Regions from separate parts of the Homo sapiens genome. Here region 2 is linked to region 1. Evidence: promoter capture Hi-C in human tissues and cell types (Jung and others, 2019). All regions are on one chromosome and are shown on one strand. Each heading gives the region's core, a stretch centred on a gene start or on the middle of the fragment in contact. The rest is flanking DNA. Distances are from core to core; before and after follow the strand shown. Region 1 holds the start of RAB32 (RAB32, member RAS oncogene family). Region 2 overlaps GRM1 (glutamate metabotropic receptor 1).

Region 1 (4,191 bases), core at 1,015-3,514:
ATCTTAGAGCATTTACATCTAATCCAAACACTACCAGATGAAGGTTGAAAAAGGATTGTTAGGGAAGTAAAGTAAGATGGCTTCAGAGTCCCTGTGTCTTCTTTCTCAAACTCCTTCCATAATTTAAATGCTAAAGCATGATAAGGTTTTTAATAGACTATTTTGTTGTGTGTGTGTGTATATATATATATATCTATATCTAAGGTATACGGCATGATGCTTTGATATACATAGTGAAATAGTTACTAGAGTTAAGCAAATTAACAAATTAACATGTCCATCATCTCACATAGTTACACAATTTTTTCTTTTCATTTTTTCTTTTCTTTTTTTTTTTTTTTTTTTTTGAGATGGTCTCACTCTGTCGCCCAGGTGGAATACAGTGGTGCGATTAAGCTCACTGAAGCCTGGACCTCCCAGGCTCAGGTAGTCGTCCCACCTCAGTCTTCTGGGTAGCTGGGACTACAGGTGGGTGCCACCACACCTGGCTGCAATTTTTTTTTAATGGTAACAGCACTTACAGTCTACTCTCTTAGCAAATTTCCAGTTTAAAATACAATATTATTAACTATAACGCTCATGCTACATTAGATCATTAGGACTCATTCATCCTATATAACTGCAACTTTGTACACTTTGACCTGCATCATTCCGTTTCTTCCCTGCCCCTGGTAACCACCACTGTTTCCACGTATTCCGTGTGTGTGTGTGTGTGTGTGTGTGTGTTTAAGATTCCACATATAAGTGATATTGCACAGTATCTTTCTTTTTGTGTCTGGCTTATTTCGCTTAGCATAATGTCCTCCAGGTTTATCCATGTTGTTGCAAATGTCAGGATCGCCTTCTAAAGGCTGAATGATATTCCATTGTGTGTGTGTGTGCGTCTGTGTATATGCGCGCGTGCATGCCTATGTATGTATTACAATTTCTTTATCCATTCATCGTTAACAGACACTTTGGTTGTTTCCAAATCTTCGCAACTGTGAATAATGCTGCATGAACTTGAGAGCGATTTCTGAGATCCTGATTTCATTTCCTTTGAGTATACACCCAGAAGAGGGATAGCTGGGTCACTGGCTTTAGCAACGATTTTTGCAATATCACACCAAAAGCCCAGGCAACCAAAGCAAACCTAGATAAATGGGACTTCATCCAACTAAAATGCTTCTGCACCGCATAGGAAATAATCAACAAAATGAAAAAACAGCCTATAGATTGGGAGAAAATATTTGTGAGCCATATATCTGATAAGGGGTTAATATCCAAAATACATTACGTTCACAGAACTCAGCCAAAATAAATAAATAAAACACCCAGTTAACTAACGGGCAAAGGATGTGAATGGACTTTTTTTTTTTTTCCAGAGGAAGTACAAATTGCCAACAGGTATAAGAAAAGGCGCTCAAAATCACTAATGAACAGGGAAAAGCCACTAGGTATCTCCTCACACCTGCTAGGATGACTGTTATAAAAAAGATAAGCGATAATAAGTGTCGGTGATGTGCGGAGCAAAGGGAACCTTGTACACTGGTGGTGGGAATGCGGACTGGAACAGCCATTATGGAAAACCCTACGGAGGTTCACTCAAAAAGTTAAAAACAGAACTACCAGCCCAGTGTTATCCGTCCTTCGTTAAGTTCAAAGTCACGGTGCCACTTCCTTTCCCATCTAAAGGGGACTGCTCGCGACCCAAGCCAAGGCCCGCAAGTGTGGCTCTCCCTGCGGGGAGAGTAGGGCAGGAGGTGGATTTCCAGGCCAGAGGCTTCCAGGCTGGGCCCGGACCCCACGCCGACCCCGGCCCCGGGGGGGGCTCAGCGACCTCGGCGCCTCCTCAGGCCCCCAGTGAACCTCCGGGGCCCATAAAGGCTCCAGGCCGGCTCCCCGGAGGCCCACCAGCGGGCGTCTGGGCCTCCCTCCGCGCCGCGACCGCCAGGAGGCGCCGCCCGGGAGAGGAAGTCCAGCTGGGCCCGGCCGGGCTTCGGAGGCGCCGCCCGGGAGAGGAAGTCCAGTTGGGCCCGGCCGGGCTTCAGAGGCGCAGGGCGGGAGCCGCCTCGCGCAGGGTCCTCCCCAAGCCGGCGCCAGGCCCTGCCCTCGTCCGGCCCTGCCCTCGTCTGGCCCCGCCCGGGCCGCGAGCACTGGCGGGTTCTGGGTCCTGTGACCGGTCAGGCGGCGTCAGCGGGCGCGGCGGAGGGCTGGCCGGCCTCGGGGGAGTTTCCGCGGCCGCCGGGGGCGCGGCGGCAGAGCGCGAGGCCGGGCAGGGGGCCAGACTCGGAGTCGAGGCGCGCCCGACAGCCGCAGCGCTCATGGCGGGCGGAGGAGCCGGGGACCCCGGCCTGGGGGCGGCCGCCGCCCCAGCGCCCGAGACCCGCGAGCACCTCTTCAAGGTGCTGGTGATCGGCGAGCTTGGCGTGGGCAAGACCAGCATCATCAAGCGCTACGTCCACCAGCTCTTCTCCCAGCACTACCGGGCCACCATCGGGGTGGACTTCGCCCTCAAGGTCCTCAACTGGGACAGCAGGACTCTGGTGCGCCTGCAGCTGTGGGACATCGCGGGTAAGCGCGGCCGCGAGTTTCCCACTCCAGAGCCCCGCCGGGCCGCCTGGCTCCTCTCTGCTTCTTTTCTTTTTCTTTTCTGCCTGAACTCGTCTGCCTGGGTACCTTTAGGAGAAGAGAGAGGCCCAATCCAAGGGCGAGATGCGATGGACGCGGTCGGCTGGACTCGGTGGGGCCCAGAGGATGGGATGGGCAGTAGGAGTTGGAGCAGGTCCTGCACGCCAGAGCTCGCTCTCCTGAAGGGAGGCGAGGAGGCCAGGGGGCCTTTTCCAGAAGTTTGAACTCTGAATAATGCAAGTATATCATACATACACCAGGACTAGTTGAGAAGGCTGCTTTGGAGCGGGCCGGCGCCTCTCAGCCTCAACTCAAGTTCAGAGGGATTGGGTGACTTAACCCGAAGCTGCACTCCTAGTTAGTGACACCACCAAGACCAAAAGCCAGGTTCCTTTCCAGATCATTTTCCACCACCCGCCTTGGCTCTGAGACTGGCCTTTGTGAGGGAAACTCCATTCCTCAAATACTTTGCTCTCATCGGAAGCCGAGGACAGACACTCCGTGAAGATTTGGGAAAGCTTTTCTGAAACCTTACACTCACCCCTTCCTCTCTTGCTAAACCAACACCTAGTCCCATCCCTGGTGCCCTCGCCCCCCCCCGCCCCCCCCCCACTCCTCAATACAGTGTTTCTCTGCCATTTGCTTTCATTTGTTCTGTTTGAGGGGGTACATTTCCCTCTGCTCTGATTTATGAACACTTGAACTTTGCCTGGTGTGGTGGTTGGGAGTGGGCGTTTTAAAGATGATGTTAACTATTGGAAAGTTCATAGAAATGGTACCAAGCCAAGTGCCAGTGGCTCACGCCTGTAATCCCAGCACTTTGGAAGGCCTAGACTGGAGGATCGCATGAGCACAGGAGTTCGAGACCAGCCTGGGCTGTTAGTGAGACCCTGTCTCTACAAAATACATACATACATATATACATACATACATACAAAAAATTAGACAAGTGTGGTCGTGCGTGCCTGTAGTCCCAGCTACTCAGGAGCCTGAGGCAGGAGGATCACTTGACCCTAGGAGAGGTCAAGGCTTCAGTGAGCTGTGTTCTCACTGCTGTACTCCAGCCTGGTCAACAGAGTGAGACCCTATCTCAGAAAAAAAAAAAAAAAGTACGAAAATTACTCTGTTCAATCATTACAGGTGTTAAGAAGCACAGTCTGCAGTACAGCATTAGAATGGGAGCTGGTTTAGGGTTAGAGGACACCTGAGGCCACCCTTCATTCTACAGTCCCTACACTGAAGCCCATGGAGGGTATAGCTACCTGGCTGGTAGCAGAGTGGTTGGGGGGATCACAGGTCTACTGTCTGTCTGCCAGGTAGTGCTCTTGTCATTTATAGCTTGTTACATAAGAAAGAGTAGTAAATAATTGTAACCTATAACTCATTCATTTAAGAGCACATTTCTGTCCCTCAGACAGGAGAATAACTGTATGCAACTCAGTTGCTCAGAAAAAAGGAGTAATCAGCCAGGGACTCAGCTTTTTGTTGTTGTTTTTTGTTACCAAAAACCAAAAGTTCGTTTGAAAAGTCATCTTTGAAGCCAGAAGTTTTTTCGAAACACTTCCTGCCGTTGCACAGAAC
Region 2 (4,191 bases), core at 959-3,458, 350 kb before region 1:
CGCTCAACTCTGGGTTAAGCCACTATGACATCCTGCTGCTTTTTCCATCTGTCTATAAATTCTGTAGCAATTCCTATTCTGATTCTAAATATGAGCCTAATGCAATGAGTGAGTTGACTTCTTCGACTCTCTTGCCTCTGAACTCTTTTTTCATGTAATGCTTTCTATAAGCATTCTGGTCTGTCGACCTGAAATATTGACACTCCCACTTTCATATCATTATCATTATGCTTCACATGTTAGAGGTCTTTATATATCCCAAAGTCATTTACATTCTCCTCATTAATAAAAACCTTCAGTACAAGTGAAGATAGGCACTTGATTGCAGTGTTGTAATTAGTAGGAGAGTTAGGATTTAAATCCAGGTGTTCTGATTTTAAGCTCCATGAATCTACCACATTCTCTGCAGAAGCAGCGTCATGGCTCTCTCCACTACGATTCTATCTGCTGTGAAAACCTTCTCTAGACATTGACCTTCCACCGAGGTAGCATAAATCTTTCTTCTGCTAATAACACATATAATTCATGGATATATTTTAACTAATCAAAATCTTCACTGTTAAATAAAGGAAGGGAAATCCCATGGTGCCAAAGTCAAAGGGAAATTTAAAACCAGAATTCTATGTTACAGTGTTTTGCTTTGGCAACTCAAAGATGGGAGGGCAGGAATGTTAGATTAAGTTCGGGTATAGGGCCTTGGAGTTGTTGAGTGGAGTTCAGTATCCACTGGGGAACAGAATCTGTGACCTTGGATTCAATTGAAGAAATGGGAATGAATAACCATGCTAAAGCTGGACCTTTACAAGAAATGGAGTAAGAGAGGAAGTGGGGAAAATTTTCACATCTGCCTGAGAAGCACCAAAGAACTTGACTCTACCAAAATCCTAGGTGGGAAATAAAATTTTCCAGTGAAAAGCTGAAATCCTAGGCCAGAGCCACAAATAAGCATGGAGTCTGAAGTTAGTTTATAAATGTTTTGTTAGACTCCTCAAGCCAAGCTACTAATTTTAAAACATTTTGAACTAGTAAACATCCTGGGAGTGTTAAGAAAGCAAAGATGAAACAATTATGTAATAACCAAACTGGGGTCCATGAGATTCTTAAGGGAAAAAAGTTTCACTAAAAATGAGCTCATGAGAAAAAGTAGAAAGTACACGAGGCGATATCACACCTTGAGGGAGTTGGCCAACACGAATTCAGGAGGAGCAGCTCTCTCAAAACGAGATTACGGAACAGCCACAAAGAGGCTGGGTAATATTTACTGCACAGTTGAAGTAACTTAAAAAGTAAAAAGAGGAATAGAATCACAAATAATAAGAAAAGACAATTTTTGGTCACCATGTTTTGTTGTTTTTACCTCTTCAATGGTTTTTTGGCTCTGTCTCCTCATCTCCATCCGTATTGCCACTACTTCAGTTCAGGCCTTCATCATTTCTCATTTGGATTACTGCCACAACCTCCTAATTGACTTTCTTGGCTGAGCATTGCAATTTTCTCTCTCCCCAATCTTGTTTGTATTCCCACTTGTTCTTCACATTGCTATATCAAAACACATCACCCCTCTGATTTACGTATTATAGGCTGATTTTAGTCTTTGGGATGTAGTTCAAGCTCCTTGGAATTGTATTCATAGCTCCTTAAGATTGGACCCTAGACCACCTCTTCAATATCATCACACAGCTGCCTCATCCTCCATGCACTTGCCATTCTCTCTCTCTCACCTCTGTGCCTCTGCATGCTCTATCTCTGCTGTTTGGAAAGGTCTCCAAGTCTCCTTTGCCTAGGTCAGTTCCCCTTTCAGGAAGCTTCATTGATTCATCTTCTCCACAGCCTCTTCCTTAGTCTGGATTAGGCTTCTTGCCATCGTGCCCCCATTCCTTTCAGTGTCTTCTCTGTCATGGCATTACCATGGGTGTCTTGATGGTCTGTGGACCGGGGTGATCCCTACTGGATTGTGGGTTCCTTGAGGGCAAGGACCAGGTCTTGCTTGTATTTGCTTCCTGCACATTTGGCATAGTGTCTGGCACAGGTGATGAAGCCTGTGCTATTAGTGAGTGAGGTGGTTTACTGGATGGTTTCCTCTTCGGTGATTCCTCTCTGTTTAACCCTCTTACTGATTTGATTTCCAACTTAAGCTGAAGCCTTTCTCAGCTATCTTTCTTAAGTATTAAAAGTGGATTTGATTTGCTTCTAAGAATCCTCCATCCCTAGTTTCAGGGTCACATCACTGTCCCTTTATGATCATCTACAAGGGGTCACACTTGACAGTTTTACCTAAATAATTACATAAAGGGAGAAAATATTGAATCCTTTCTGTTTTCTATCTTGTTTCTTTAATTAATCTTTTTGTTTTGTGTGATCTCTTTTGCTTTTCCCAATTTCTCTTCTTTTTTTCAGATATTTTCTTCATTCCCGTATCCATCTTTGGTTGGATCTTTTCTGTTTCCTTTCTTTCATGCTGACACTAAAAGCAATCTATCACCTTTTGTTCTTTCCTGTCAGTCAATCTCTGGTCCGTGACAGATTAACTTTGACAAGTTTTTGTGCTGAATATAAATGGTTTCTCTCTGTGTTTAAAAGGGAACACACAGCACACAAACAAGCTGGGGAAAGGACTATTTATCACATAAGTAGTTGGAAAAATTGGGATAAACATATTGATCTATTGCAATCTTTTGTTTGTGCTAAGACCAAGTAAGTAATTATTCAGACTACTTACTAACCTCCTCACAATTTAAGATTGCTTAACTTTCAGTGTAAACAAATTTTATTGTGGTCTAAGACAATTTCCAAATGCTAGCGTTCACTTATTGAAAAGGGGAAAGTCTGTGGAATAATAATGTTCTGCCATCCTCCTTTTAATGAGAATGGTTATGGTAACATTTTGAAATAAATATGTCATAACAACTATATGACAGTATGTTGAAATAGGATAAATGGGATTATTATCTGGGTTTACAATTAGCATAACCAAACTGTAGAATAATAATGGGACATACATGGAGGAAAATGTTACCCTGGTTAAAGAAGCTGGGCACTAAAATCTACACAGCTGGGTCAGAATTCTGGTTCTATAATTTATTAGGCACTTGGCCTTATACAAAACCTCAGGTTCCTCATATGTCAATTAGGCTAAGGATTAAAAGGAACAATGTATTATTTAGCATGAATTCCTGGCATATAAAATACCCGATATATGTAAGTATGAAATTAAAATAATGATTGTCGTTAGCTTATCTCTCTCATCCTCCTGTTCCCTTCATTATTGCCATCCAACTTAAATGCCTACTTTCAAAATTCTCACTATTCTTACTCTTTCTAAACCAGTAACCAGCACATTTAAACTGTGTTGTGACCAATTAGTGGGTTATGAAGTCAATTTACTGATCTTTATTTTTAAATGTAATACAATAGAAAATATTAGAGTGAATTGTATGTACTAGCAAAAAGTATTTTTGTGAAACTTTTTAGTTATACATATGGTCTGACTGACATTTTAAACAGGCTTTTCTGCCTGCTATATGGACTGTGGGCTCTAGGTGGGCACAGCTGGAAGAAGGAGCTTTTACTATCATCCAAGTGAGTGATTGTGAGGAAGATGACCGGCATAGAAGAAATAGTTGTGGGTGAAAAGTGGCCAGATTAAGGATAGAGTTCATGGTAGAGGCAACAGGTTTTGTTAACTACTGGATGTAAGGTAAAAATTTTTTGTTGTACCAAGCGACTGGAAAAATGGATTTGCCATTTTCTGAGATGAGGATGCCCCTAAGTGGGGTAGGTTTGTGGACTAGAACAGAGAAAGATAAATTTTGAGTATATTAAATTTAAGATGCCTATTATTATGGATGTGAAGATGTTAAATAGACAGTTAGATATACAAGTCTAAATTCAAAGGTGAGCTCTGGGCTGAAGATGCACATTTGGGAGTCATTAGGATATATATACTATTTGAAATCATGTGTCTGGATGAGATCATCAAGGTTGTGAGTGGAATTTAGAGAAGGGATGTTGTCCAAGGACTGAACCCTGGGGTACTGTGACATCTAGACCATGAGAAAATAACTACAAGCAAGTAAAGAGACTGAGACACTGCAGCCAATGAGAGGGAGATTAACACCTAGGAGAGTGTGGTGTCCTAAAGCCGAGTGAAAAAAAGTACAACTGGAGTGAGTGGTCACCTGTGTCAAGGGC

What was found. The method cuts DNA at HindIII sites, captures the fragments that hold promoters and counts their contacts. A contact is called where the count stands out against the background at its distance.
Region 2: a fragment that was not itself captured here is called in contact with the fragment with the promoter of RAB32 in region 1 in 2 of the 25 tissues and cell types used here (mesendoderm cells and thymus).

Annotation. Positions count from the first base shown.
Region 1 is chr6:146,541,569-146,545,759 of GRCh38, forward strand. It overlaps RAB32 (RAB32, member RAS oncogene family), which reads left to right and starts at 2,265. Exons shown (of 3, transcript NM_006834.5): 1 at 2,265-2,553. The coding sequence starts at 2,304. RefSeq lists a silencer at 1,839-2,218. The HindIII fragment of the contact is 12,240 bases long and covers 1-3,876 here.
Region 2 is chr6:146,189,330-146,193,520 of GRCh38, forward strand. All of the region lies in intron 2 of GRM1 (glutamate metabotropic receptor 1), which reads left to right. Among named protein-coding and RNA genes, the nearest start is that of GRM1, 160 kb to the left of the region's middle. The HindIII fragment of the contact is 3,268 bases long and covers 575-3,842 here.